Regions from separate parts of the Homo sapiens genome. Here regions 2, 3, 4, 5, 6 and 7 are each linked to region 1. The links are contacts of gene promoters, found by promoter capture Hi-C in blood cells and fetal thymus (Javierre and others, 2016). All regions are on one chromosome and are shown on one strand. The core of a region is centred on a gene start or on the middle of the fragment in contact, and the rest is flanking DNA. Distances in the headings are between cores, read along the strand shown. Region 1 holds the start of METTL21A (methyltransferase 21A, HSPA lysine). Region 2 has its middle 34 kb from the start of PLEKHM3. Region 3 has its middle 15 kb from the start of PLEKHM3. Region 4 has its middle 26 kb from the start of CRYGD. Region 5 overlaps KLF7 (KLF transcription factor 7). Region 6 overlaps KLF7 (KLF transcription factor 7). Region 7 has its middle 45 kb from the start of CRYGD.

Evidence for each region. Contacts are between HindIII fragments. The CHiCAGO score rates a contact against its expected background, and 5 or more counts as called.
Region 2: a contact is called between a fragment that was not itself captured here and the fragment with the promoter of METTL21A in region 1, in 13 of 17 cell types (megakaryocytes, M2 macrophages, erythroblasts and 10 more). The highest score is 11.8, in megakaryocytes.
Region 3: a contact is called between a fragment that was not itself captured here and the fragment with the promoter of METTL21A in region 1, in 17 of 17 cell types (total B cells, naive B cells, M2 macrophages and 14 more). The highest score is 11.9, in total B cells.
Region 4: a contact is called between a fragment that was not itself captured here and the fragment with the promoter of METTL21A in region 1, in 1 of 17 cell types (M2 macrophages). The highest score is 5.6, in M2 macrophages.
Region 5: a contact is called between a fragment that was not itself captured here and the fragment with the promoter of METTL21A in region 1, in 2 of 17 cell types (neutrophils and monocytes). The highest score is 6.2, in neutrophils.
Region 6: a contact is called between a fragment that was not itself captured here and the fragment with the promoter of METTL21A in region 1, in 1 of 17 cell types (neutrophils). The highest score is 7.8, in neutrophils.
Region 7: a fragment that was not itself captured here is called in contact with the fragment with the promoter of METTL21A in region 1 in 3 of 17 cell types (megakaryocytes, endothelial precursors and erythroblasts); the score reaches 7.1 in megakaryocytes.

Annotation. Positions count from the first base shown.
Region 1 is chr2:207,623,158-207,627,048 of GRCh38, reverse strand. METTL21A (methyltransferase 21A, HSPA lysine) reads left to right here and starts at 1,655. Exons shown (of 4, transcript NM_001127395.5): 1 at 1,655-1,987; 2 at 2,645-2,820. The coding sequence starts at 2,674. RefSeq lists enhancers at 1-484, 485-1,189 and a silencer at 1,460-2,059. The HindIII fragment of the contact is 10,824 bases long and covers 1-3,891 here.
Region 2 is chr2:208,057,120-208,061,009 of GRCh38, reverse strand. It overlaps the pseudogene RPL12P17. Among named protein-coding and RNA genes, the nearest start is that of PLEKHM3, 34 kb to the right of the region's middle. The HindIII fragment of the contact is 7,297 bases long and covers 1-3,890 here.
Region 3 is chr2:208,038,696-208,042,703 of GRCh38, reverse strand. No RefSeq gene overlaps it. Among named protein-coding and RNA genes, the nearest start is that of PLEKHM3, 15 kb to the right of the region's middle. The HindIII fragment of the contact is 1,185 bases long and covers 2,068-3,252 here.
Region 4 is chr2:208,096,574-208,100,444 of GRCh38, reverse strand. No RefSeq gene overlaps it. Among named protein-coding and RNA genes, the nearest start is that of CRYGD, 26 kb to the left of the region's middle. The HindIII fragment of the contact is 9,375 bases long and covers 1-3,871 here.
Region 5 is chr2:207,136,884-207,140,631 of GRCh38, reverse strand. All of the region lies in intron 1 of KLF7 (KLF transcription factor 7), which reads left to right. Among named protein-coding and RNA genes, the nearest start is that of KLF7, 27 kb to the left of the region's middle. The HindIII fragment of the contact is 2,208 bases long and covers 976-3,183 here.
Region 6 is chr2:207,114,844-207,118,439 of GRCh38, reverse strand. The region is part of intron 2 of KLF7 (KLF transcription factor 7); the gene reads left to right. Among named protein-coding and RNA genes, the nearest start is that of MIR2355, 6.6 kb to the right of the region's middle. The HindIII fragment of the contact is 3,153 bases long and covers 1-3,047 here.
Region 7 is chr2:208,077,214-208,080,870 of GRCh38, reverse strand. No RefSeq gene overlaps it. Among named protein-coding and RNA genes, the nearest start is that of CRYGD, 45 kb to the left of the region's middle. The HindIII fragment of the contact is 1,730 bases long and covers 667-2,396 here.

The DNA.
Region 1 (3,891 bases), core at 406-2,905:
CTAAGCTACTTGGAGGCTGAGGCAGGAGAATCCCTTGAACCTGGGAGGCGGAGGTTGCAGTGAGCCGAGATCATGCCATTGCACTCCACCCTGGGTGACAAGAGCGAAACTCTGAATAATAATAATAAAAAAAAAAAATCAGCGCTCGGGCGGTAGGGGTGGGGGAGGTGGCAGTGGTTCACACCTGTAATCCCGCATTTTGGGAGGCTGAGATGAGCGGATCACCGGAGATCAGGAGTTCAAGGCCAGCCTGGCCAACATGGTGAAGCCCCGTCTCTACTAAAAACACAAAAAAAGCCGGGTGTGGCGGCGGGCGCCTGTAATTCCAGCTACTTTGGAGGCTGAGGCAGGAGAACTGCTTGAACCCGGGAGGTGGAGGCTGCAGTGAGCCGAGATCGCGCCACTGCACTCCAGCCTGGCGACAGAGCAAGACTCCGTCTCAAACAAACAAACAAAATCCCACAAAAATTAGCTGGCGTGCTGGCGCAGGCCTGTAATCCTAGCTACACGGGAGAATGAGGCAGGAGAATCGCTTGAACCCGGAAGGCGGAGACTGCAGTGAGCCGAGTTCGCGCCCTTGCACTCCAGCCTGGGCGACAGAGAGAGACTCCGTCTCAAAACAAAAACAAAAACAAAAACAAAAGCAAAAAACCAAACAAAAAAATCAGCGCTCGGGCCCCCTCCCATGGCCAGCTCTTGGGGCGGGGGACTGGTAAGGGAGGTTTACCCCAGCTGGTTCTAACGTGCAGCCGCGCTGAGAGCGCAGCGGGCGGTGTGGGGCGAGGGGCCCCAGGAGGAAAAAGAAGCCTGCCCCGGGAGGATGCCGGTCCCCGCACGGTCCCACTCAATGGACCCACTCCAGCCGCGCGCTCTGCCAGGGCCTGCGGCCAGGGTACCAGGCCCTCGGCACCTTCCACGTCCAGCGTGGGTCCTCACGGGCAGGTGCGTCTTGGCATCGGGAGGAGGGAGACTGGGGCACTGGAGTCTGCAGCGCCGCCTGGGGCCGGGGCTGGAGCCGAGCGCACGCCCAGAGCTCCGCGCTTCCGACTGCAGCCAGAGCCCGCCGACCCCCGCCCCACTTTAAAAACTTGGACTCGGGCGCCACGTGTTCACTTCCCCCACTGTGCTTTAGTTGAAAAGGGTTTTGTGACTTTTCCACTCGATTGCCGCCAAGCGGGCTATTACGCCGCTTCTGACCCCACCGTGGAGACGCGGGGACTAGAGTGACCATGCCTTCTTCGGAGCGAGCTGTCTCCATCATCCGCTAACGCGCCACCTTTAAAAAACAGGCACAACGCGCAAGCGACAAAGTCAGAGGCAGAGAGCGGCGGAGCACATGATAGAAAAGGTCGAGAGGCACATTCAGCGCCAGGTGGGTGGCTTTTCTCTCCCGCTAGGAGAGCCCAGGGCACCCCATGCTCTCCCTGTGCACCCGCGGCAGTTCGGCACCCCGATCTCACTCTTGCTCCCGCCCCCACAGCGCCTCCCTCGGCGGCGGGGGAAACGGATTAAGTCGTCCGTGTACCCTGGGGACGCACGAGGGAAAGCCCCGGTCCCCCCTCCCGCAACGTCACTCCTCCACCGCGCCACGGCCCGGCCCCGCCCTCGCCGTGAGCTCCGGGGGCACCTGCCGGAGGCTGGGTGCCGGGAGACCGGAAATGCGTGGCTCCGGGCCGGGGCCGCCCGCCCCCGCGTCGCGGGCTCTTTAAGGCCGGCGGTTTTCGCAGCCAGCCCGGGGCGGGGAAAGCGGAGCGCGCGCTCCACGCGGGACCGCCTCCCGGGCCGTAAGTACCGGCGTGGCGGCGCCTCAGCCCGGCCTGGGCGAGCCCTGGGTGCTCCGCCGGGCAGCTCACGGCGCCCCGTATGGCCTGGGGATCCTAAGAGGCCCTGTGACCCCCCTCGCCTGGTCTCCCTCTCACCCCTGGAGGGTTGCCGCAGCTCCGGGGCCCCCGGGCAGGAAGGGCGCACTGGTCGTCCCGGGAGAGGGGTGAGTGGGGGGCAGCTATAGGGGGAGTTCGGGGAGGCCTCCGAGTCCCCGCTGTCCCCGCGAGCCGCTTGGAGGCCCCCAGTGTCGCTCACTTCCAGGGTCGGGGAGACGGAACTGCGGCGACCATGTATTTCTGGTTTATCAAACCGCTAACACCCAGTCTAAGGGCAGGTTCTGTCCCATTGTTATCACTATCGAAGCAGCCGATGGAGGAGGGGAGGTGGGTAGCGAAACCGTAGCGAAAGAACCCGGGCCGCCCGGCTGGCTGCAGCTGCAGTCCGGGCGCCCGGGTCTGGGTTGGAAGCGCTGCTTTCCGCGCTGCTCTGGGGCCCTGGGCGATCACCGCCGCTTCCGCCGCTTGTGTAGTTCTGAATTCACGGAGTGGTAGCAGTGCAGTGTATAGGGTATTCTGCGGAAGTTGGAATGTTCTGGGCTTTTTTTTTCTTCTTCCCCAAACACATCCGTTGACACAAATTCCGAGCCAAATCTCACTCAGATTCGGAAGAGCCATGCAAAAGAAATTGGACAAAGGCTTCCTCCACCTGTTTCTTTTTTTCTTTTGAACTTGTAAACGACCTTAAAAGCATTTGGAGTTAGTTAAGAACAGATAATGTATCTTTTGGCCAGAGCGTCACCCAGGATTCTTTTGCACGGCAGGTCTGAGCAGAGGGCGGGGTGCAGGCGGAATGGCCCTCGTGCCCTATGAGGAGACCACGGAATTTGGGTTGCAGAAATTCCACAAGCCTCTTGCAACTTTTTCCTTTGCAAACCACACGATCCAGATCCGGCAGGACTGGAGACACCTGGGAGTCGCAGCGGTGGTTTGGGATGCGGTAAGTAAGCCCTGGGGGACCTCTGAAAACGTTCACACTTGCAAGACTGGCTTTTATTTTTTATTTTTTTTAGAACAGCTTTATTGAGATATAATTCACATAGCATACACTTTACCTATTTAAAGTGCACAATTCAGTGCGGTTTTAAAAATACAGTATATTCACAGAGTAGTGCAACTATTACCGCTTCAATTTTAAAAGTTTTACTATCACTGCCACTCTCAAACCCGTATCCCTTAGTCACTCCTCTTGTCCCTCCACATAGATTACATTTTAAAGGTGTAAATGAAAGCTGAGGAAAGTTAATGACTTGTCGGAGAGGATAGGAAGGAAAGCCCCCAACTGCTTTGGACACGAGTTAGTCTTTTTTTCTTTTGAGACATAGTCTCGTTCTGTTGCCCAGGCTGGAGTGCAGTGGTGCGATCCTGGCTCAATGCAGCCTCCGCTTCCTGGGTTCAAGTGATTCTCCCACCTCAGCCTCTGGAGTAACTGGGGCTACAGGTGCACGCCACCACACCTGGTTAATTTTTGTATTTTTTGGTAGAGATGGGGTTTCGACATGTTGGCCAGGCTGATCTGGAACTCCTGACCTCAAGTGATCCACCTGCCTCAGCCTCCCAAAGTGCTGGGATTACAGGCGTGAGCCACAGCGCCCAGCCGAGTTAGTCTCTTTATTTCACAGAGTATTGTAAAGTGGCAGAGCCCAAAATGGAGATTATGTGTTTTCTTTAAGTTTTCCATAGTTGTAATTGTTAAAAAATTGTAACTGCTTTTTAACTTCTTCCTCTCCCTGCCCTGTTCTGACTTGAGCCCTCAGCATCTAGCCCCACACCTAGGACTCAGTGGGAACTCAATTAATGTTGAATGCATGATTGGCATAAATACAGTTTGACAGTTTTAACATTGTTAGGGATGTTAAACACGTAGGAATAAAAATCTCAATATATTCTAATGTAGTAATACCACTTCTAGGAATCCAGTCCAGGTAACTACATGGAAGTTACTCTGGTAATAATAAAGATATAGGCCTGGTGTGGTGGCTCACACCTGTAATCCCAGCAGTTTGGGAGG
Region 2 (3,890 bases), core at 252-2,751, 430 kb before region 1:
TTAACCTAAATGTGAAAGAAGATATGGCAAATCATCATTTGATCATTTCTGAAGGTCTCAAGCATTATCCTTCTATAAAAAGGATTAAATAAGGCCGGGTGAGGTGTCTCACGCCTGTAATCCCAGCACTTTGGGAGGCCAAGGCGGGCAGATCACCTGAGGTTGGGAGTTTGAGACCAGCTTGACCAACATGGAGAAACCCCGACTCTACTAAAAATACAAAATTAGCCAGGCATGGTGATGCACGCCTGTAAGCTACTCGGGAGGCCGAGGCAGGAGAATCGCTTGAACCCGGGAGGCGGAGGTTGCAGTGAGTCGAGACCATGCCATTGCACTCCAGCCTGGGCAACAAGAGCGAAACTCTGTCTCAAACAAACAAACAAAAAGGATTAAATAGTCTGGGTGGAGTGGCTCACGCCTGTAATCCCAGCACTTTGGGAGGCCAAAGTAGGCAGATTGCTTTGAGTTCAGGAGTTCGAGCCTGGTCAACATAGTGAAACCCCATTTACACACACACAGACAAACACACAAATCAGCCAAGCATGGTGGCTCACACCTGTAGTCCCAGCTACTTGGGAGGCTGAGGCTAGAGAATTGCTTGAGTCTGGGAAGCAAAGGTTGCAGTGAGCTGTGATCACGCCACTGCACTCCAGCCTGGATGACAGAGCGAGACCCTGTCTCAAAAGAAAAAGGGGGGAGGGATTAAATAAATATTGTCATTGATAGCAAAAGCTGTTTGGATCTAGTTGATGATATAATCTAGATACATGTCCTTGCCCAAACCTCATGTTGAAATGTAATCCCCAGTGTTGGAGATGGGTCCTGATGGGAGGTGTTAAGGTCATGGGGGCAGATTTCTCATGGCTTGGACCTGTCCTGGAGATAGTGAGTGAGTTCTCATGAGATCTGGTAATTTAAAAGTGTGTGGTACCCCCACCTTCACTCTCTCTCTCTTGCTCTTGCTTTTGCCGTGTGAAGTGCCAGCTCCCACTTCACCTTCCACCATGAATAAAAGCTCCCTGAGGATTCACCAGAAGCCAAGCAGATGCCAGCACCATGCCTCCTGTATAGCCTGCAGGAATATGAGCCAATTAAATCTCTTTCCTTTATAAATTACCCAGTCTCAGGTATTTCTTTATAGCAATGCAAGAATGGCCTAATACAGCTGATTTCAACTATAGTCAAGGAGGGGAAAAAAGTAAGTGGAGGTTAAACAAAGTTGTTTGCCGTTTTTCACATAATCAGGAGCAGAGATAAAGTTATAACTTGCAAGTGGCTCTATTCAGGCTGATGGTGCACGATCACAGTGCTTTGGTTACCTGGTGGGCCTCATGGGCTGAGGCCTCAAAGGCATAACCAGGCCCTATTGTGATCTCTGCATTGGAAACATGGGACCTTTTTTCAGCATCTGCCATCCACAAGACACTGTGCCCAGGACTTTCACCATGTCTCATAAGGTAGCCCTACTATTATTCCTAGGCAGCTCTTTATTCCCAGAGGGTTTGCCTTGACTTCTTAGATATAATGGATCATTTGAGTTTTGCTTGTGAAATTGTGAAAAGTCTTTAAGAGCAAACACATACCTCAATGAGACCATAAAGGGGTTAAGGCATGTGCAGTGCTTTGAGGTGTTCAGGTGAAAAGCTCTCAGTAGTATTAATTATTATTCTTTTAGTTAAAAGTAGCTCTTTTTTTATATATATACTTTAAGTTCTAGGGTACACGTGCACAACGTGCAGGTTTGTTACATATGTATACATGTGCCGTGTTTGATTGCTGCACCCATTAACTTGTCATTTACATTAGGTATTTCTCCTAATGCTATCTCTCCCCTATCCCCCCACCCCACGACAGGCCGGGGTATGTGATGTTCCCTGCCCTGTGTCCAAGTGTTCTCATTGTTCAATTCCCACCTATGAGTGAGAACATGTGGTGTTTGATTTTCTGTCCTTGCGATAGCTTGCTCAGAATGATGCTTTCCAGCTTCATCCATGTCGCTACAAAGGACATGAACTCATCCATTTTTATGGCTGCATAGTATTCCATGGTGTATATGTGCCACATTTTCTTTTTTTTAATATATATATATTTTTTATTATATTTTAAGTTCTAGGGTACATGTGCACAACATGCAGGTTTGTTACATATGTATATATGTGCCATGTTGGTGTGCTGCACCCATTAACTCGTCATTTACATTAGGTATATCTCCTAATGCTATCCCTCCCCCCTCCCCCCTCCCCACACCCCAAAACAGTCCGGGGTGTGTGATGTTCCCCTTCCTGTGTCCAAGTGTTCTCATTGTTCAATTCCCACCTGTGAGTGAGAACATGCGGTGTTTGGTTTTTTGTCCTTGGGATAGTTTGCTGAGAATGATGGTTTCCAGCTTCATCCATGTCCCTACAAAGGACGTGAACTCATCATTTTTTATGGCTGCATAGTAATGTGCCACATTTTCTTAATCCAGTCTATCACTGATGGACATGTGTGTTGGTTCCAAGTCTTTGCTATTGTGAATAGTGCCACAATAAACATACTTGTGCATGTGTCTTTATAGCAGCATGATTTAAAATCCTTTGGGTTTATACCCAGTAATGGAATCACTGGGTCAAATGGTATTTCTAGTTCTAGATCCTTGAGAAATCGCCATACTGTCTTCCACAGTGGTTGAACTAGTTTATACTCCCACCAACAGTGTAAAAGCATTCTTATTTCTCCACATCCTCTCCAGCATCTGTTGTTTCCTGACTTTAATGATCACCATTCTAATCATTGTGGTTTTGATTTGCATTTCTCTGATGACCAGTGATGATGAGCATTTTTTCATGTGTCTGTTGGCTGCATAAATGTCTTCTTTTGAAAACTGTCTGTTCATATCCTTTGCCCACTTTTTGATGGGGTTGTTTGATTTTTTCCTGTAAATTTGTTTAAGTTCTTTGAAGATTCTGGATATTAGTCCTTTGTCAGATGGGTAGATTGCAGAAATTTTCTCCCATTCTGTAGGTTGCCTGTTTACTCTGATGGTAGTTTCTTTTGCTGTACAGAAGCTCTTTAGTTTAATTAGATCCCATTTGTCTATTTTGGCTTTTGTTGCCATTGCTTTTAACAAAACAATAAGTAAAACATGAGTCCACAAAAAGCTGTGAGAGGGATATACCTTATAAAGACCTTGGGTTCTTTCGGCTCTTGGCTTGGAGGAGGCCAAGGTGCAACTTTCTTCCGTCATCCTGAATCCGGGTTCATCCATCACCAGCCACCTCCACCATGCTGCAGAAGTTCGACCCCAACGGGATCAAAGTCGTATACCTGAGGTGCACTGGGGGTGAAGTCAGTGCCACGTCTGCGCTGGACCCCAAGATCGGCCCACTGGGTCTGTCTCCAAAAAAGATTGGTGATGACATTGCCAAGGCAATGGGTGACTGGAAGGGCCTGAGAATTACAGTGAAACTGACCATTCAGAACAGACAGGCCCAGATTGAGGTAGTGCCTTCTGCCTCTGCCCTGATCATCAAAGCCCTCAAGGAACCACCAAGAGACAGAAAGAAACAGAAAAACATTAAACACAGTGGGAATATCACTTTTGATGAGATCATCAACATTGCTTGACAGATGCAGCACCCATCTTTACCCAGAGAACTCTCTGGAACCATTAAGGAGATCCTGGAGACTGCCCAGTCTGTGAGCCATAATGTTGATGGCCACCAACCTCATGACATCATAGATGACATCAACAGTGTTGTTGTGGAATGCCCAACTAGTTAAGAAGCACAAAGGAAAATATTTCAATAAAGGATCATTTGACAACTGGAAAAAAAAAAACACCACCTTGCGTTCTGCAGTCAATTCTCCCTGCCTAAGTGAAAATCCCTGATATTTTGTGAATGATGGGA
Region 3 (4,008 bases), core at 1,411-3,910, 410 kb before region 1:
TAATAAGACTTTTTCTTTGGTCTCCAGACTGTCCCTAAATTGGTGCAATCCTGAGGCTGAGTGATGCAACTTGATTATAAGACAGCAGTCTGGGTCTAGGTGGCCATACTAAGTATAAAATACACGTATGCAATCAATTTCTAGCTTTTTTTTTTTTTTTTTGACAGGGTCTCACCCTGTTGCCCAGGCTGGAGTGCAGTGGTGCAATCACAGTTCTTTGCAGCCTCGACCTTCTGGGCTCAAACAATCCTCCCACCTCAGCCTCCCAAGTAGCTGAGAATACAGGTGTGCACTACCACGTCTCGCTAATTTTTAAGTTTTTGGTAGAGATGAGGTCTCACTATGTTGCCCAGGCTGGTCTCAAACTTGTGGGCTTATAGCTTTATATTTTTAAAAGGAGTGATAGGATACACGGCTTCAGTCAGCCCACTGAATGCCTGATCCCATTCAGTATGAGTCATGGTACATTCAGCTGGCTGTATATGGCCTGATGGCCTTCTCTCCAGGGCAGCTAAAGGCAACAGAATACACACCCAATCCATGCTGTTACTCTGCATCTACTGAAGCCCATGCTTCCTTCTCTAAACAGTAGAGAAAGTCCCCAGTTTTCTTGGGGATCATAAATAATTGGAACAATTCCACCCACCTATTTCTGTGCTGGCATATCTGGAGTGCTGAGACACTCTAATTCTTCAACTTCTTCTTTGGATAGACCCTCTGTTCTCTTTCCCACAGGGTCTTGAGAAGACAGGAGGCATCGCTAAAGCTTGTGTATGTCTACTTGTGCCTTGTGAGTCTGTTATTGTGTAAAGATGCTCTCAGAGGGGGAATGAGAATGTGCTTCTAGTTCTGCCCCTAAAACTAGAAAATTAGTCTTTAATCCCATAGGAAAAGAGACCTGGCCCCTTACGCTGATCTGAGAAAATATGGAATATAGGTAGTTCCCAAATATACCGGACATAGGAACCTCTCAGGGAATAAACTTTGGTTGATAAATTGCAAACAGGCGGCCAGGCGCAGTGGCTCACGCCTGTAATCCCAACACTTTGGGAGACTGAGGCGGGCAGATCATGAGGTCAGGAGATTGAGGCCATCCTGGCTAACACGGTGAAACCCCATTTCTACTAAAAAAAAAAAAAATGAAAAAAAAATAGCCAGGCGTGGTGGCACGTGCCTGTAGTCCCAGCTACCCAGGAGGCTGAGGCAGGAGAATCACTTGAGCGACAGAGCAAGACTCCATCTAAAAAAAAAAAAAAATTGCGAACAGGCATGGAGGAGCCGGGGTACAGTATTTTGAATCACTATACACAATGCAACAAAGATTTATTAAGCACTCAGGTCACAAACATTGTACTGGGCACTGAGGACAGGATGGTACAACAAAAATAGGCAGAATTATTGCTTATGGAACATGTGGTTATTCTCATGAAGCTTACAGTTTCACAGCAAGGTAATTATTAACATAAAAGCATTCTGATAAGTATAAACGTTTACTGTAAATGCTGTGAAGAGGAGCATATGGTGCTATAATTGCATGATATAGACGTCGTCAACCTAGAAGGGGCACTAAGGGACAACTTTCCTGAAGGGCTGACTACTGAGCTGAGAGCTGAAGGATGAGTGGAAACTACTCGGGTAAAGAGTGTTCTAGACAGAATGATATGCAAAGGCCCTGTGGCAGGAATGAGCATGAATTGCTCATGGCATTGAAGAAGGCTGCAGTGGCTGAAGCAGACGCTAGGGGGAGCATGGTACAAGATGTTGCTAGGGAGGAAAAAAGGACCAGACCATGTCTGGGTCTCTTAAATCACAGTAAGAATTCTTATGAGCAATAGGAAGCTACTGAAATGCTTAAGCAGGTTTCTGTTTTGAAAGAGCTACTCTGGCTGTTGGCTGTTGCAGAGTTAATGGATTGAAAGGGCCAATAGTGCTGCTAGGAGGTGATTGCAGGACAATTGCAGTCACCCAGAGGAGAGAAGATGGAAGCTTGGTCTAGGGTTGGGAGAGGGGAAATGAAGAGAGGTAGACAGCTCTGCACAGAAGAGTTCCCTGTATGTGATGCAAGCTTCTAGGAGAGCTAAGCATTTGAAGCCTTTGTTATAAAGCTAACTGATTATGGAACAGTAGTTTTAATTTAGGTGGCCGTATTAGGTTTGTAAGCATGTGATTGACTTCTAGCTTCATATTTTAAAAGTGATAATGGGACAGGCAGTTTTTCTAGAGAAGTGGAGTCCTGGAGAGTGAGTAGAGAAGCCAGCTCAAGGAGAAATTCCTCAGGAGTGCCATTCTGCTTTATCACCACTGAGTGCTGCTGTTTCCAATGACAAGTTCCCAAGAAACCAAAGGGCCAAGTAAGGTAAGAGGAACAGTGGCGGGGGAGCGGGGGGTTGGCAGGGGGCAGCGGGGAACCAACTTAGAGTTTTAAAAAGTGGAGAAGACAAAGATGTTTTCTAATTTTGGAAACCTGAGTCCTAAGCTGCAAGGGTCCAAATCAAATTTTTGGGAAGGTCATTTTGTAATATGGTAACTTCTTGCTTTACTGTCAGCATCTCTAAAGACAGTCCCCAGTAATAAAGGGGCCAAAAGAGGCTTTTTTAGAACCATTAGTGTACCCCTCCTGTACAGTCCCATTAGCGGGCCTTGTTAAACCAACCCAGACAAAGAGCAAAGATGCCCTAGTTAATGGAGAGTCTCCGATAATTACTCTGCTCAGCCGCTTCTTTTAGGGTCTGAATGGTCTTTAAATAATGTTTCTCTTGCTGTGGTCACAGACAATGACCTAGCAGTCTGCTTTAAGCGGTGCCAATCCCATTAGCCGAAGAATAGCAAAGCTCTGTGTGTGTCTGCGTGCCAAGGAGCGAGTGTGTGTGTGTGTATGTGTCTGTGCGTGCATGTGCGTGTGGTGAGGAGCTCAGCTTATGGCAGGGATCAGGCTTAATGTTGCTTTCTTCCTCTTTTCCTCCCTTTCTCTACACATCCATCCCTCCCAGGAACCAAACATACCACTGTGTCTATTGGGTCATCTGCCTGTTGAGTGACAACCTGCCCTTACTGAAAATGGAAACAGACTCCCTTAAATGCTTGCGGACGATGTTTCTCATTCCTACTTACTAAACACTTCTCTGTAGGATGTGATTCTAAACATGCCCCTGTCCTCTAAGAACTTCACGTCCCAGAACCACAATAATGCAAACAATGTAAAGTCACCCCAGTAAATGTGTGCCATTCAGGGTGGAAAATGTTTTAAAAGCTTCATAAATGTGGAAGAAAAAGATTGAGGGTACAAAAGTTATAGGAAGAATGCCAAGATCTTTGGAATATTTTCCTCTGTGGCTCTCTCTCCTGATGCCTTGCAACTCTTTTTTCTGATAATGAGAATGCTTACTTATATTTGAAGACAAGTTATATCCCAGACACAGAATGTGGAAACGGGGCAACATTAATTTATTTAGGAAGGATCGAGTGCTCCAACATGAAAGTGTGAATAAGTTCGATCGTGAACTGTTTTGTAATAAAAATGTACAAAACAACATTCAGAAACACTGCCGTAAATGGAACCTGGTTGCAACCTGCTCTTGCCCACCGTTGTCTGGAGGACTTTTTCAGAAGCTCCAGAGTGGTCTGATTCAACAGTTTTTGAATCAACTGAGTGTGAAAACAGGCTAGCATAAGTAGGTAGGGTGACTCCACTCACACAAATACATGGGAGTGAGTTATTTGCAGCTCATTAAGTATCACAGGGCCTCTCCCCACCACATACCCACCCATCACCCACATCATATGCCTCCTAGGAAGAATGATTATATTGAAGCCAACAGGATAAAAGAGCCATTTTCTGTTTCTGGGTTCTAGAAAGACATCCTAGACAAAGAAATAGTCTACTTGGTAAAACTAAAAAGATGCTCCATTTAGTTCTTACTTTCTTTAACTTTGATCTGCAGTTGTTGTTGTTGTTGTTGAGACAGGGTCTCACTCTGTCACCCAGGCTGGAGTGCAGTGGCATGATCT
Region 4 (3,871 bases), core at 1,122-3,621, 470 kb before region 1:
AATGAAACCCTGACAAATAGGGACAGGGAAGGTTATGAAGAGAACATTCTTGTGCTTATATGCTTGATAACAAAAAACTATCACAAAAGACTCTGCAAAAACCACAACCTTGCACACAGAACATTGCAACCTTATATAAAAAATACTTCTGCAAAGACATCTGCCCAGCAACTGCCTGTCCAACCTCGGACGGGTGTCACCCTCGTTAACGATCTTTGTAGCCAAGGATAATTATTTCAAAACAATTATGCAATCCTCCTCATTTTTTCCTTTGAAAACCTTTGTCTTCTTTTACCTCCCTGAATATGCACATAGTTTACTGTGGCACGCATATTCCCATTGCAATGCTTCATTCCCAAAGAAATATCATTTACTTTTAGAGAGTCCCTCTCTGTTACTTAGGTTGACAGTCTGAACCCGCGTACTCCCAGCTGACTCTGGTATAGAAGATGGGAATTCAGAACTGTTGATATAGCTCACAAATACCGTTTATGTTCTCATACCTTTGGGGCTTTATGTACCACATGAAAGGAAAGCACTGCAAATAAACCCAGATCCCAAAGCCCTATGCGGTCACCAGACTCTGGCTTTGAAGCATACCCTTTCCTGGTACATATACACAATGGAATACTATTCAGCCGTAAAAAAGAATGAGATCCTGTCCTTCGCAACAACATGGATGGAACTGGAGGTCATCATGTTAAGTGAAATAAGAAAGACAAACATCACACGTTCTCACGTATTTGTGGGAGCTAAAAATTAAAACAATTTCACTCATAAAGATAGAGAGTAGAAGGATGGTTACTAGAGGCTGGGAAGGGTAGTGGGGGATGAGGAGGGAAGTGGGGATTGATATAATTTGGATCTGTGTACCTGCCCGAGTCTCATGTGAAATTGTAATCCCCAGTGTTGGAAGTGAGGGCTGGTGAGAGGTGATTGAATCCCAGGGGCAGATTTCTTGTGAATGGTTTAGCATCACCCCTCGGTGCTGTTCTCGTGATAATTAGTGAGTTCTCACGAGATCTGGTTGTTTAAAAGTGTGTAGCATCTCCCTGCTCGCTCGCTCTCTTGCTCCTGCTCCAACCATGTGACAGGCTGCTATCCCTTTGCCTTTCACCATGATTGTAAGTTCCCTGAGGCCCCCAAGAAGCTGAGCAGATATCAGCATCATGCTTCCTGTACAGCCTGTGGAACTGTGAGCCAATGAAACCTCTTTTCTTTATAAATTACCCAGTCTTGGCAGGGCACAGTGGCTCATGCCTGTAATCCCAGCACTTTGGGAGGCCAAGGTGGACAGATCATTGAGGTCAGAAGTTCAAGAACAACCTGGCCAACATGGTGAAACCCTGCCTCTACTAAAAGTACAAAAATTAGCTGGGCATGGTGGCGCACACCTGTAATCCCAGCTACTTGGGAGGCTGAAGCAGGAGAATTGCTTGAATCCAGGAGGCAAAGACTGCAGTGAGCCAAGATTGCACCATTGCACTCCAGCCTGGGCAACAGAGTGAGACTTCATCTCCAAATAAATAAATAAATAAATAAATAAATAAATAAATAAATAACCCAGCCTCAGGTATTTCTTTATAGCAATGTGAGAATGGACTAATACAGAGATGATTAATGGACACACACAAAAATAGAAAGAATGAATAGGACCTAGTTATTAATAGCACAACAGGGTGAGTATAGTAAAAAAAAAATGTAATTGTATATTTTAAGATAACTAAGAACATAATTGGATTGTTTGTAACACAAAAGATAAATGCTTGAGGGGATGGATACCCCCACCTACCCTGATGTGACTATTACACTTTGCATACCTGTATCAAAATATCTCATGTAACCCACTCTAGGCCTCCTCTCTGCTATAGCTGAACACTTGACAGGTTGACCTGCCTGCAGAGAGGAGCCACCAATTCCAGAGCCACCTCTCTGCTGAGAGCTGAAGACTCAACAGAGACGAGCTACTCACTATGGGTCTCCTCTAAGCTGTTCTAACACCCAGTAAAGTGCCTCTTTGTCTTGTTCACCCTCCACTTGTCTGCATACCCCATTCTTTCTGGACGCAGGACAAGAACTCAGGCAAAAGTGCCACTGGCCACAGAGGTTTCCAGCCAGAAAAGTGACACCCCAAAGATCTCATAACACCACCACTCCCAGATAATTTTTGTACTTTTTTGTAGAGACTGGGTTTTGCCATGTTGGCCAGGCTTATCTCTAACTCCTGGGCTCAAACAATCAGACTGCCTTGGTTTCCCAGAGTGCTAGGATTGCAGGTGTGAGCTACCGTGCCCAGCCAAAAATCACATTCTTTAAGTATCTGGAATCTATTTCCAGATATGTAAAGCTGGCTTCTCGGTGCTGTATAATATAACCCATGCAGCAGTGAGCAAGTGTTGAGCAGCTGCTGAAAGGACCACAGCTTTGGAAGGCTTCCCTGCTGTTTTCACAGTGTTTTTTCCTGCCACGCAGCCAATAATAATAATCAACAACATTCCTAGACTGTTTCAAGGGTGTCGGGCATAGTGTCATTTACTTCACATCCATTTGATTTTTCAATCTTTTCGTAACAAACATATGAGTCAGGTACTAGTAGTATCTGCATTTAACAAGGATATATGTTCAGAAATTAAAGAATTAGTCCAGTGCCACATACAAATAAAAGTTGCAAAACCAGGATTGGAGGCCAGAGTTTTCTGACTCCAGAGTCCCCACATTTCACCATTAAGTGATACTGCCTCTCTGTGGATAAGGAGACACTTGGACATAGAAGAAGGGTGTGAGGGGTGGTTACAGGAAAATGTGTATATTTTTTCCTGGGCCGTGGCATTTCTAGCAGTAATTTACTCAATAGAAGGGATAGCGAAAGCAATGAATATGGACATCAGGAGCTTGGCCAGGTACCAGGGACCCACACCTAGCAGGCTACTGCCCGATTCTGGGCATCCATCCCAGTAGGGACCTCAGGCAAGAAGCTGAAGCCAGTGAAGCAAAATGCAATTCCCATTAGAGGGAAGGCTGGCTGGTGGGCAGAAGTAGCTTAATGTCTAGGCAGTATTTTGTGATTTTGCTCACCTCTATTACTTCAAAGAACACTGACTATAACATATGTTGGCAGAAAAAGCCCCAACACCTGAATAGTCAAGTTTTCTAATAGGTTGACTAGCAGATTTTCTCATTGGTTTAATGATTAGAAGGGTAAAGTCTGCAGGTAATAGGTGTTGGTAGCTGGGTGGACTTGAGCAGGTAGGAACTAAGAAGGGTTCAAGAACAGCCAACCTCAACATGGAGTGAGACACAGGTTAGGAGATGCTATGGGCCGGGTGCGGTGGCTCACACCTGTAATGCCAGCACTTTGGGAGGCCAAGGAAGGCAGATCACGAGGTCTGGAGATTGAGACCAGCCTGGCCAACATGGTGAAACCCCGTCTATACTAAAAATACAAAAAATAGCTGGGCATGGTGGCAGGTACCTGTAATCCCAACTACTTGGGAGGCTGAGGCAGGAGAATCCCTTGAACCAGGGAGTCGGAGGTTGCAGTGAGCTGAGATCGTGCCACTGCACTCCAGCCTGGGTGACAGAGCAAGAGTCCATCTCAAAAAAAAAAAAAAAAAAAAAGATACATGACAGCCACGACATGAATTCAACTCATCCTTTAATAACGGTTGAGTGCCTTTTATGTCCCAGGTCTTAACGCTGCTGAGTTAAGCAGAAACATTTCAGGGATGATAAGATAAAGTCGCTGCCACTAAGGAAAAGGGAGAAAGAATAGCATTGATTGAGCTTTTACTCTGTGCCAATCACTGTATCTGGTTGTGGGAATGCAAAGAGGAATAAGTCAGAGCCTTTCCCCTTAGAGAGCTTAGAGTCT
Region 5 (3,748 bases), core at 830-3,329, 490 kb after region 1:
CTCTTGGTTAGAGGTGTGTTACTGATGGGAGCAGCTACTGGCATCCAAGATTTTTATACAAGAATGAGATGCTTACTGTTCATCTGTTTTCCATTGCTCCTATTTTTACTCCTCTTGTTGCTTCTATTTCTTACATGCTTTTTTTTCCTCACTGCATTTTCTGTTTTGAACAAAAGGGATGGGTGATATATGATACTGGTGTTGGAAAATGCATTAGTCTCTAAGGACTGGGAGAAAAATGTTGACTTATTTAGTCCAATTTGTATTTTCATATTTATTAAAATTAGAAAATGTTTTTTAAAATGTTGGATAGCAGGTTCAAATCCCCCCTTTAAAAATTATATAAATTTGAGTTTCTATGTATTTGGTATTAATCAAATAACCAAAATAAGGTCTTCAATAAATTGTGTTTATAAGTTTTCTCAATTCAAATCTTAAAAAAACAGGCCAGGCCCAGTGGCTCATGCCTGTAATCCCAGCACTTTGGGAGGCCGAGGTGGGCGGACCACGAGGTCAAGAGATTGAGACCATCTTGGCCAACATGGTGAAACCCCATCTCTACTAAAAATACAAAAATTAGCTGGGTGTGATGGCGGGCACCTATAGTCCCAGCTATTCGGAAGGCTGAGGCAGGAGAATCGCTTGAACCTGGGAGGCAGAGGTTGCAGTGAACTGAGATTGCGCCACTGCACTCCAGCCTGGCGACTGTCTCAAAAAAGAAAGACTCTTGTCTCAGAAAAGAAAAAAAAGATCTTAAAAAATGATTCTAATTCTATCTGTTTTCCTCTCAATGACTACACTTGATGTTGACAGGTTGAAATGTCTGAAATCCCATTTGCTTTTAACAATTCAACCAAGACTTGCAATGACCAGAGAGAACTCGGAAATTGCATAATTAAGGGTGTTGTCAAAACCAAGACTATTTGCCCCAGTCTCACCAGGAGAGATTACGTAGAGAAATGTAGTTGAAAAGCTTATGAAATGAAGTTTGGGATCTGATGGTTTCCAACTTGAGAAGATCCAAAATCTTCATCAGGAATCCTTGTTTTTCCAAGGTACTAAGAGATAATGGTTTGTTGGATTTTTAGAATGTTTTGAGATCCTTGGTGGAAAGTTCAGGGTTGGACCAGAAAAAAAAAAACCTAATTGTTAGTGGCCAAGAAACTTTTCGTTCTGTTTCTGGTCTTTTTGGTAGTATGGTTACAGAACAGTGAAAAACTCAGTTTTCTTTACTAAGTTAGGTTCCCCATAAATAGGATGGGGATTTTAATCTTTGCTGCCTATTACAGTCTCACAGGGGGACTCCAAGGTTACAAGATTACCAGATAAGTATCGATAAGCATTTTCAGATGCTTTTCCCAAAAGAATTCTCTGTAAAAGAAAAAAGAAATGTATGTCATTTCATATGGAATGGATTGGAAAAATCCCAGTTTCACCTGGGAGTTAGAGCTGTTACAGCTTTGCTCCTGTTTCTGTCAGCCTGTTTTCTAGAGAAGATGGATGGTTTCTACAGGTCTCTGATTCAGTACCTCGTGGGCTGAAAGCTCAGGGCGTGCTTTCAAAAGAGTGAGGATAAAGCATCCCCTACCTTCGCAAAAAGGATCCTCTCATTCACATAGTTGTTAGCAAATCCTGATAGTGTAGGCGCCATTTTCATTTTCTTTTCCAAAAAAGCACACGCAAGGAAGAACTCAAGTTATTGAAGATCAAGCCAAATAAATGACCAAATTTCGTGGCAATCGCAGACACAGACACAAACATCGAAATATCTCCTTATTTAAGGCAGCAGCTCTGCTGGGGCCTACATTCCAGGATTCTCAGCAGAGAAAACATGTTTTCTTTATAGAGGAGTTTTATTAGCAGCAGTGTTCCGGTATGTGGTTCAGGTTAATTAATGATGTAGTCACACTGGTGTCTTGCCATGAGTTTTATTCTAGTAAGTAGGGCACTAGGAAATTGTATTGGCATATCTTGTCATGCCAAAAAAGAATTCTTAATTTGGACCACTAAAATACATTTCCATGGGATCTGTCAACAAGGTAGTTTAAGAATTCTTAATGTGGATACTGCCTTAGACTAAGAATGAACTCACCATTAACTATAAGTAGCAGATGCAGTGGTTTCAATGAATATATGCTGTTCTTAAATATTTTTTTGGCTGAGATGATTGAGACCTCAAAGACCCAGACCACCCACAAGCTCTGGTGGAGTTGACCTTCATTGTATGAGAAGATTTGTATCAAGGACCACCTTTTTCCCATGAGAGTGTTTATTAATTTTAAATCATGATGGTGTTTTAAAACTTAATTTGTGTTGTGCATATGTAGCAACCTTCCTTGGAGGTTGAAACAACAAAGCAACTGGATTGGAAATTAGATTTTCCCCCTTATGCTGCTAATGTAGTTCTTGCTCCACTGGGATTTCTCCTTTGCATGGGCTGATGATTTCTTTGAAACTATATGGAAATTGGTTCAGACAGGAACAAAGGGGAGAGGGGATGGCAGTGATGATTCAAATTAATGTCTCTTCCTCAATGAGAGTCTGGTGTGCCTGAAAGTGCATGTCATTCGGTATCAGTCAAGCCACCTAAGGTTAAGTGAGGTGCCAGAGCTACTGGAATCCAAACTTCAGGGTCTCAGCACTTGATTTTTTTCCCTGTCATGTTGGGTTGAATTGTTAATTTGAAATCTGCAACATTGCAATGGGGTTCAGAATTGGGCAAAGCACAATTTTACTTTTCTTTACATGATGGAACATCAACTCTTCCCCTCTCCCTCATCTTTCCCCAGCCAGGATGGGAAAGATTCCTATTGCCTGACATAATGAATAAGAGAAAGAACATCTTTGTGACTCTAGGGACAACGAAAGATTTAGAGAGAGAGGCATCCAAAATACATTAAAGAGAATCTACACTTCATTAACAGTGGCACACTATGCACATGTGAATGCACACACACACTCACACTCATAGGAACCCTGTACTGCTTATATTCCATATTTCCATCCTCCACTCTTGCCTAGTTCAAACTCCATACCCTCTTAATTGGATTTTGGCTCACTTCCAGGTTCAGTGTTCGAGGGTTCTGTATCTGTGAAATAATGATCCTGAAATAAATAGCACTTCTCAGTAGAGATACCTTTTCATGTAAAATTCTTAAAGGGAGTGGGAGGGAAGGAAAAGCTTCTGTGTTTAGGAATTTATGGCAAAGATACCAGGATGGGCCCACATAGGAATTTTAAAGGACCTCACCTGTGTAAGTGGTGTGTGGGGCTTACAGAAAACACGAGTCCTCGCCAACTGCTAGGTTTGAATGGACCTCTTCATTTAAGGACCTTTCATGTAAGGACTGATAGAAGTGGGGCTGCTAATGTCAGGGAATGAATTCCTGTGACCCTCAAGTGCTTCAGAGACTGGTGGCTGGAGTTGCCTTTCTCAGGGACATCCTGTTAGGTGACAGAAATGGGAATAAAGTGGGCTGAGCCTGTCTCTTTGATCTGTTCACCCAGGATACCAGTTAATAAGCAGTCATTATGCAGGTGAGGAGAGGGGAGGGGTGGGTTTTGTTCATGTTAGTGAATGCATGATGCAATATGGACTGCTGAGGAGAAAAGCCCTCTTTGTGTCTATTTGAAATGGGCAGCCACAAGCACCCACAACTGACCTCTCCACCTTGAAAAGAGGCTCCATTTGGCTTCTGTCTGATGAGTACGAAGCAGCAAGTGCCTTCTCAGTGTAAAAACTCGCACT
Region 6 (3,596 bases), core at 222-2,721, 510 kb after region 1:
TATCCTCTCTAAATAGGTGAGAATTAGGAGGGTCCTTAAACATATTGCCTCATCAGGTGACTGAGAAGCAGTACAAGGAAATTACAAAGAAATGGTCTTCCATTTCCAGGCCTATTATCGTTACTGATAAAGCTACTATTTTATGGTTGTTACTATTTTCACTTTTTTTAATGTTAGTGTTAAAGAGAGACATGCCAGTCTCAGTTCACGCATTAAAATGACAAATGTTAATATTCTGTCCCTATCAAATAAGAAAGGTCAGTATTATCACAACATGGGAGAAACTGAGGAACCACAACAACAAAAAAGTAACTTGGTTCAGGCTATGCAAGTCCCTGTTGTTAGAAATTAAATTGGACCCATGTCTCCTGACCTATAGGCTTACATCCTACTCAGTAGATTGTTTTGCTTCTTATTTACTGTATGTGTTCTTCAGTCTTTCTGCGAACAGGTATTAAGTGCCCATAGATGTCAGGCACTGTACCATGGAGTGACCAGCAAAGGAGAACAGGGTGGTCCATTTGGGAAGGAGTGCTGAAGGGTGGTGATGGGGCAGTAAATGAAAGCAGGGGCTTGCAGCAGCAGTCAGAGGCAGCATGGAAGATTTGGAGATAACAAGTCGCTTCTCTCCTTCTGGACAGAGTGTTTATTGATGCTGTTCATCTTTTTAAATGATGTCAATGTGATAGTATAGTAATTTATATAAATAGAAGCCCTAATTCAAGGTCAGGCATATCAGCAGGATAAAATTTAATACCTCAGTGTGGAACTGTAGGGGGTTCATCAACCACTTTCAACCTGCTAGTGCCATAGATAAGAATTCTTTGAATTTATACAATAGCAACTGAAATGGGGCGATTTTAAGACATTAAAGGGCCTTTAATATGCCGAGACACATGGCTGCTAATGAAGTTTATCCATGTGTTGAGGCAGAAACTCATTAAACCCCGATTATGGGATGGAAACAAGAATAAGGGTTAAATGTTCAGTTCACAAGGTGGAGAGAGCTGAATAGGAGGGTTTGATAATTTGGATTTAGCATATTCAAGAGCTTAAGAGAAGTTTGAAAAGAAAGGGTATGAAATGAGGTGGTGAAAAACAATCGCTGGGAGAATTTTCTGATTCAGTAAAATCTTAAAACTTTACCACATGGTAATTTAGCAATATGATAACTCCTAACATTTATGAAGATAAATTAATGTAAACATATATTGGGAAGCATGGCCTAAACTCAGCATATACACAGCAAGCACATTTATTTTATCATTATACTATGATAATAAATATAGGCTTTGTGGGACGCCTATTCCAGATGTCCTTTTAATGGATAATTGATAGTCACAAAGCAAATAAGTATGTTAAAATAAGAATCGAGGAGAAAGAAAAGCATGAAATTAATGAGTATTTCATCATAAACAATATTTTCGAACACCCACTGTACATACACTAGTCCCTCTTTATTGCCGAGGACCTCGCTTTTTGACACAAAAGCCTGAAATATGGTTTCATAAAATCATTATATTTGGAACTTGATCTCAGAATATAGTTTGGATGGGGGATGTGGGGGAACTGGGAGGAAGGAGAAGAGAAAAGAGGAATCTCATTTCAGAAAAGGCAGTGAAAGTAATAGAATTTTATAAATTCAAAGGTTTCAAGGGTGGGCGAGTTCTGTTTGATAGAGAAGAAAAGAAGAGGGTCATGAGAAGTCTGTGTAAATGAAAAAATGACATTGAGAAGGCCAAGTGTAAACTTTTAGAAAAACTGTTCCTTTTAATAAATTGATAATGTACAGAGGCTGTTTCTATTATAATATGAGTGTTAATTACCGTCATGATCATGGTTATCCTGTACATATAATATAGGAAGGTTCAAGGAAAGCTATGTGGAGCTTTGTAAAGAGTGAAGGCTAAGATGACGTTATAAGAATTGATGGTAGGCAGGGATTTTCTATGTTTCCTGAAGTTGAAATAATAATGTAGTGATTGTGTTTGAATTAGAAAGAAATGGAGTTTAAGAAACTCACGTGTTAATTTTTTTAAACAAATTGGTTTTGAATGGTCCTCTTTTTAAAAAAATTAAAATATAAGGACAGATGAAAAATAATTGTAAGGTGACCTGTCTTTCTTTGAAAAATATTCAGCTTGAATGTAGTAGAAATTACAGTTGAAACCTTGATAACGGATCCTCAGGAAACAAACTTCATATAAGGAAATTAGTTCTGATGAGTAAATGCAGCTGTTTGGGAATCTGGTCCACCAGGGGCAGAATGTGTCAGATGACACTAAGCTCTGCTGCACGACTCCGGTACCGAATGGAGAACGCCTAACCCTTTCCAGGCAGGCAGTTTCTATTTGTCTTCACCCTGATGGAGGCAAACTGGATAGCCCTGGCCAAACTTGTTTTCTAAAATATGGGGTTTTTTTCTTCTGCATTCCCTACCTAAGTACCTAATATCTGATCCCTTCCTGTACTCTGTCACTTTCTGCCCTGCAGCTTTCCTCTATCCTTCACAGCAGAAAGGATCTGGTAGCAATACACTGTAGACTGTTGTGGTTGGTACACTGTAGACTGTTGTGGTCAGTGGATTATACGTCCATCCACCAGTGTATAACACTTTAATCTTCTATTATTAGTTTTTTAACCTTCAATTAGGGGAAACTTAATAGAATTTCAGTAGTCTGTAAACAGGTAGGGAGACATGATGGGGGAGTGTTGGGAACTGGGATGGCATTCCCCCACTTTACTCCAGCACCATCCCATCTACCCCTCCTCTGCTACTGGATTTTCTACATTTTCTAAAAGTGGCTTCCTTTCAACAATTTGTTAATGTATTGACATGACATTATTAAGCTAAATGTTGGTCGAGGCAAGATCACTTAAAATAATTAAAAGTTGGTGACTTTTTAATGTGCTGGTTATTCAGCCAACCACTGATGGAGTTACTTCTCACTCCTGCAGTGTCCCCATGTTCAGTCACCAATGGGTGGTGAAATAATGGAGGTGAAAGCACTTCAATTATTTAAGGATGTCTGCAATGAGAATAAGCTTAGCATGCTTTGTTCCATATTTCTGTTCACCCTACCTTCTCCTTCAACATGTATGTTTATGGAGCTAGGTGAGCTGGGGACTGACCCGGGATTGGACCCCATAATCTTGTAGGGGAGGAAAGATCAGAATGCCCCATTGCTGGTTCCTTATGGAGCCTCAGTCCAGCTTTGTCCTAAACCAAACTTCCTTGGCATACCCCCCCTTTTTTTTTTTGCAACTGACATCTTTTTTTTTCTTCCCTTCAAAAGTTATCTGCATTCATGTAAGACCCCTTTTATTTTGTTTGCAAAATAAAATACATTTACAGATTAAAACTCCTTTTATATTCTAAACTACTCATCTGGTATTATAAAACATATACTTAGGCTTATTTTGTTGTTTCTGCCTTTAAAATGTATCCGTTTCCATTACTATAACATGTATGGAATTCAGTAAAGTGGTACATATTGTTTTCAGGCAAATAATGTAAAAAGATGTTTTAATCCCAACTTTGTTGGGTCTGCATAGTTTTATCTGTTTCACTAGATGAGCTAAAAATGATAAAAGCT
Region 7 (3,657 bases), core at 282-2,781, 450 kb before region 1:
GTTTTATAGGTCCTGTGAGATTTATGCTCTAAGAAGGTTCTATTTCGGTGTATTTCTTTTTTCTTTTTTTATTTTGTTATGGGGACTCGCTGTGTCACCCAGGCTGGAATGCAGTGGTGCACTCTCGGCTCACTGCAACTTCTGCCTCCCAGGTTCAAGCAATTCTCATGACTCAGCCTCCAGAGTATCTGGGACTACAGGTGTGTGCCACCACACCTGGCTAATTTTTTGTGGTTTTAGTAGAGACAGGGTTTCACTGTGTTAGCCAGGATGGTCTTGATCTCCTGAACTCGTGATCTGCCCACCTTGGTCTCCCAAACTGCTGGGATTACAGGCTTGAGCCACCATGCTCGGCCTATTTTGGTGTATTTTGAGGCTTTGCTTCAAGATTTAGCACTCCTTTTAGCGGTGCTTGTAGTGCTGGCTTGGTAGTGCAAATTCTCTCAGCATTTGTTTGCCTGAAAAAGACTGTATCTTTTCTTTATTTATGAAGCTTAGTTTTGCTGGATACAAATTTCTTGGCTGATAATTGTTTTGTTTAAGGAGGCTAAAGATAGGACCCCAATCCTTTCTAGGTTGCAAGGTGTCTGCTGAGAAATCTGCTATTAATCTGATAGATATTCTTTTATACATTACCTGAAGCTTTTGCCTTATGGCTCTTAAGCTTCTTTCCTTCATCTTGATTTTAGATAACGTGATAACTATGTGCCTAGGGGATGATCTTTTTGCGATGAATTTCCCAGATGTTCTTTGAGCTTCTTGTATTTGGATGGCTAGATCTCTAGCAAGCCTGGAAAAGTTTTCCTCAATTATTCTCTCAAATGTTTTCCAGACTTTTAGATTTCTCTTCTTCCTCAGGAACGCCAGTTATTCTTAGTTTTGGTCATTTAACATAATCCCAAACTTCTTGGAGACTTCGTTCATTTTTTTAATTTGTTTTTCTTTGTCTTTCTCAGATTGGGCTAATTCGAAAGCCTTGTCTTCAAGCTCTTAAGTTCTTTCTTCTACTTGTTCTATTCTATTGTTGAGACTTTCCAGTGTATTTTGCAATTCTCTAAGTGTGTCCTTCATCTCCAGGAGTTGTGATTGTTTCTTATTTATGCTATCTATTTCTCTGGAGATTTTTCCTTCCATACCCTGTAACATTTTTAAAATGTCTTTAAGTTGGTATTTACCTTTCTCTGGTGCCTCCCTGAGTAGCTTAATAATCGACCTTCTGAATTTTTTTGCTGGCCATTTAGAGATTTCTTCTTGGTTTGGATTGTGAACCTAGAAAACCTGAGACAGCTCTCAGTTAATTTAGAAAGTTTATTTTGCCAAGGTTGAGGACGGACCATGACACTGCCTCAGGGAGTTCTGATGACATGCCCAAGGTGGTCGGGGGCACAGCTTGGTTTTATCCATTTTAGGGAGACAGAAGACAACAATCAATATATGTAAGAAGTACATTGGTTCTATCTGGAAAGGCGGGACAACTTGAAGCAAAGACAGGAAGATTCAAAGCAGGGAGGGATCTTCCAGGTCACAGTTAGGTGAAACACAAACAGTGCATTCTTTTGAGTTTCTGATTAGCCTTTCCAAAGAAGGCAATCAGATATGCATCTATCTCAATGAGCAGAGGGATAACTTTGAATAGAATGGAAGGCAGATTTGCCCTAAGCAATTTCCAGCTAGTTTTTCCTAGTGATTTTGGGGCCCAAGATATTTTCCTTTCACAGGATCCATTGCTGGTGAGCTAGTGTGATCTTTTGGGGGTGTTAAAGTGCCTTGTTTTATCATATTACCAGAATTGTTTTTCTGGTTCCTTCTCATTTGGGTAGACTATGTCAGAGGGAAGATCTGGGGCTCAAGGGCTGCTGTTCAGATTCTTTTGTCCCATAGGGTGCTCCCTTGCTGTGGGGCTCTCCCCTTTCCCCTTGAGATAGGACTTCCTGAGAACCAGACTGCAGTGATTGTTATTTCTCTTCTGGGTCTAGCCACCCAGTGGAGCTACTGGGCTCTGGGCTGGTACTGAGGAGGGTCTGCAAAGAGTCCTGTGATGTGCTCCATCTTCAGATCTCTCAGCTGTGGATACCAGCACCTGCTCCAGTGGAGGTAGCAGAGGAGTGAAGCGGACTCTGTAAGAGTACTTGGTTGTAGTTTTGTTTAGCGTGCCGGTTTTCTCAAATGCTGGTTGTACTGACAGTAAAGCTATCATGTGGACAGACTTAGGACCTCTGGTTAGCCAGGATGTTACAGGCAGTGGAGTTAACCATTGTTTTCTCCTTTCTTGGGGCAGGGTTATTCTTTGATGAGTTGCTGTAACAGTTTGTGTTGGTTGGCCTCCAGCTAGGAGGTGGCGCTTTCAAGACAACTTCAGACAACTTCAGCTGCGGTAGTATGGGGGGACGCAAGCTTGCCCTAGGGTCTCCTGGATGAGCCTTCAGGTTTCTCAGGTGATGGGCGGGGCCCTAGAACTTCCATGAGTTGTACGTCTTTTGTTTTTGGCTACCAGGGCAGGTGGAGAAAGACCATCTATCTGGTGGGGGTAGAGTCAGGTGGGTCTGAGCTCAGACTCTCCTTGGGCGGGGCTTGCCGCAGCCACCTTGGGGGAGGGGGTGTGGTTCTCAGGCCATTGGAGTAGGTTCCCAGTAGGACTATGGCTGCCTCTGCTGTCATACAGGTCGCCAGGGAAGTTGCGGAAAACTGGCAGTGACGGGCCTCACCCAGCTCCCACGCAGACTGAAAGGCCAGTCTCACTCTCCCAGTGCTCCTCGACAGCACCGAGTTTATATCTAGGTGAGTTTATTTGCCAGTGAGCAGGACTGGGAACTCCCTCCACCGCCACCATACAAGCCTCGCGCCTAATAAAGCAAGCAGGGCTTTCAGGCCTTCCCCTCCTCGCTGCGGCTTCTGTGCTCCTATCTGGACTTCCTGTTTGCCCCCGACCCCAGATTCTGCTCTGGAAAATTCATGCTTGAAATCATTATAAAGTTCAGCTGGAAGTTTCCTTCTCCCTGTGGGCTTTCCCTAATTCCACTGGCAGCCCGCTCCCCACAAGGGCCCCTGTGAGATAAAGTCAGAAATGGGTTCTCTGAGCTTCCCTGGGGACCGGGAGTGCCTACAGGGCTCTTCCTGCTGCTGCTTCTACTTTTATATTTTGCTCAGCTCTCTAAATTCGCCTCAGCTCTAGGTAAGGTTAAATCCTTCTCCCATGATATGGATTTTCAGGCTCCCCAGTGAGGATGTGTGTTTGGAAAGAGACTTTCCCCCTCTCACACTCTGGGCACTCACGGTTTTTCAGCTGTGTCTTGGAGTTTGCAGCGGCAAACTCTTCTTTCAAAGGGTCTGTGAATTCTTTTGGTTTTCCTGGTATGTTCTTGCAGTAGTTCTTGGAGCAAAAGTTCACAATGTGAGTCTCCTCATGCTGCAAGTCAGCATGAGAGCTGCAAGTCAGTCCTGTCCCCCATCTGGCAGCTATTTTTATTATGCCTTCTCTTGCCATTCTTGAGAATGTCCAGTGATTGTCTTCCAAGGAAAAACTTTGTATGCTATATTTTCTACCATGCTATTTCATCATCAAATCCTAAATTATCTTTCTAGGTGTGATGAATGAGACAAAAATGCCTGGGATACTTTCCCATATCACTCTGAAGCATCAGCATCCGAAAAAGAAGC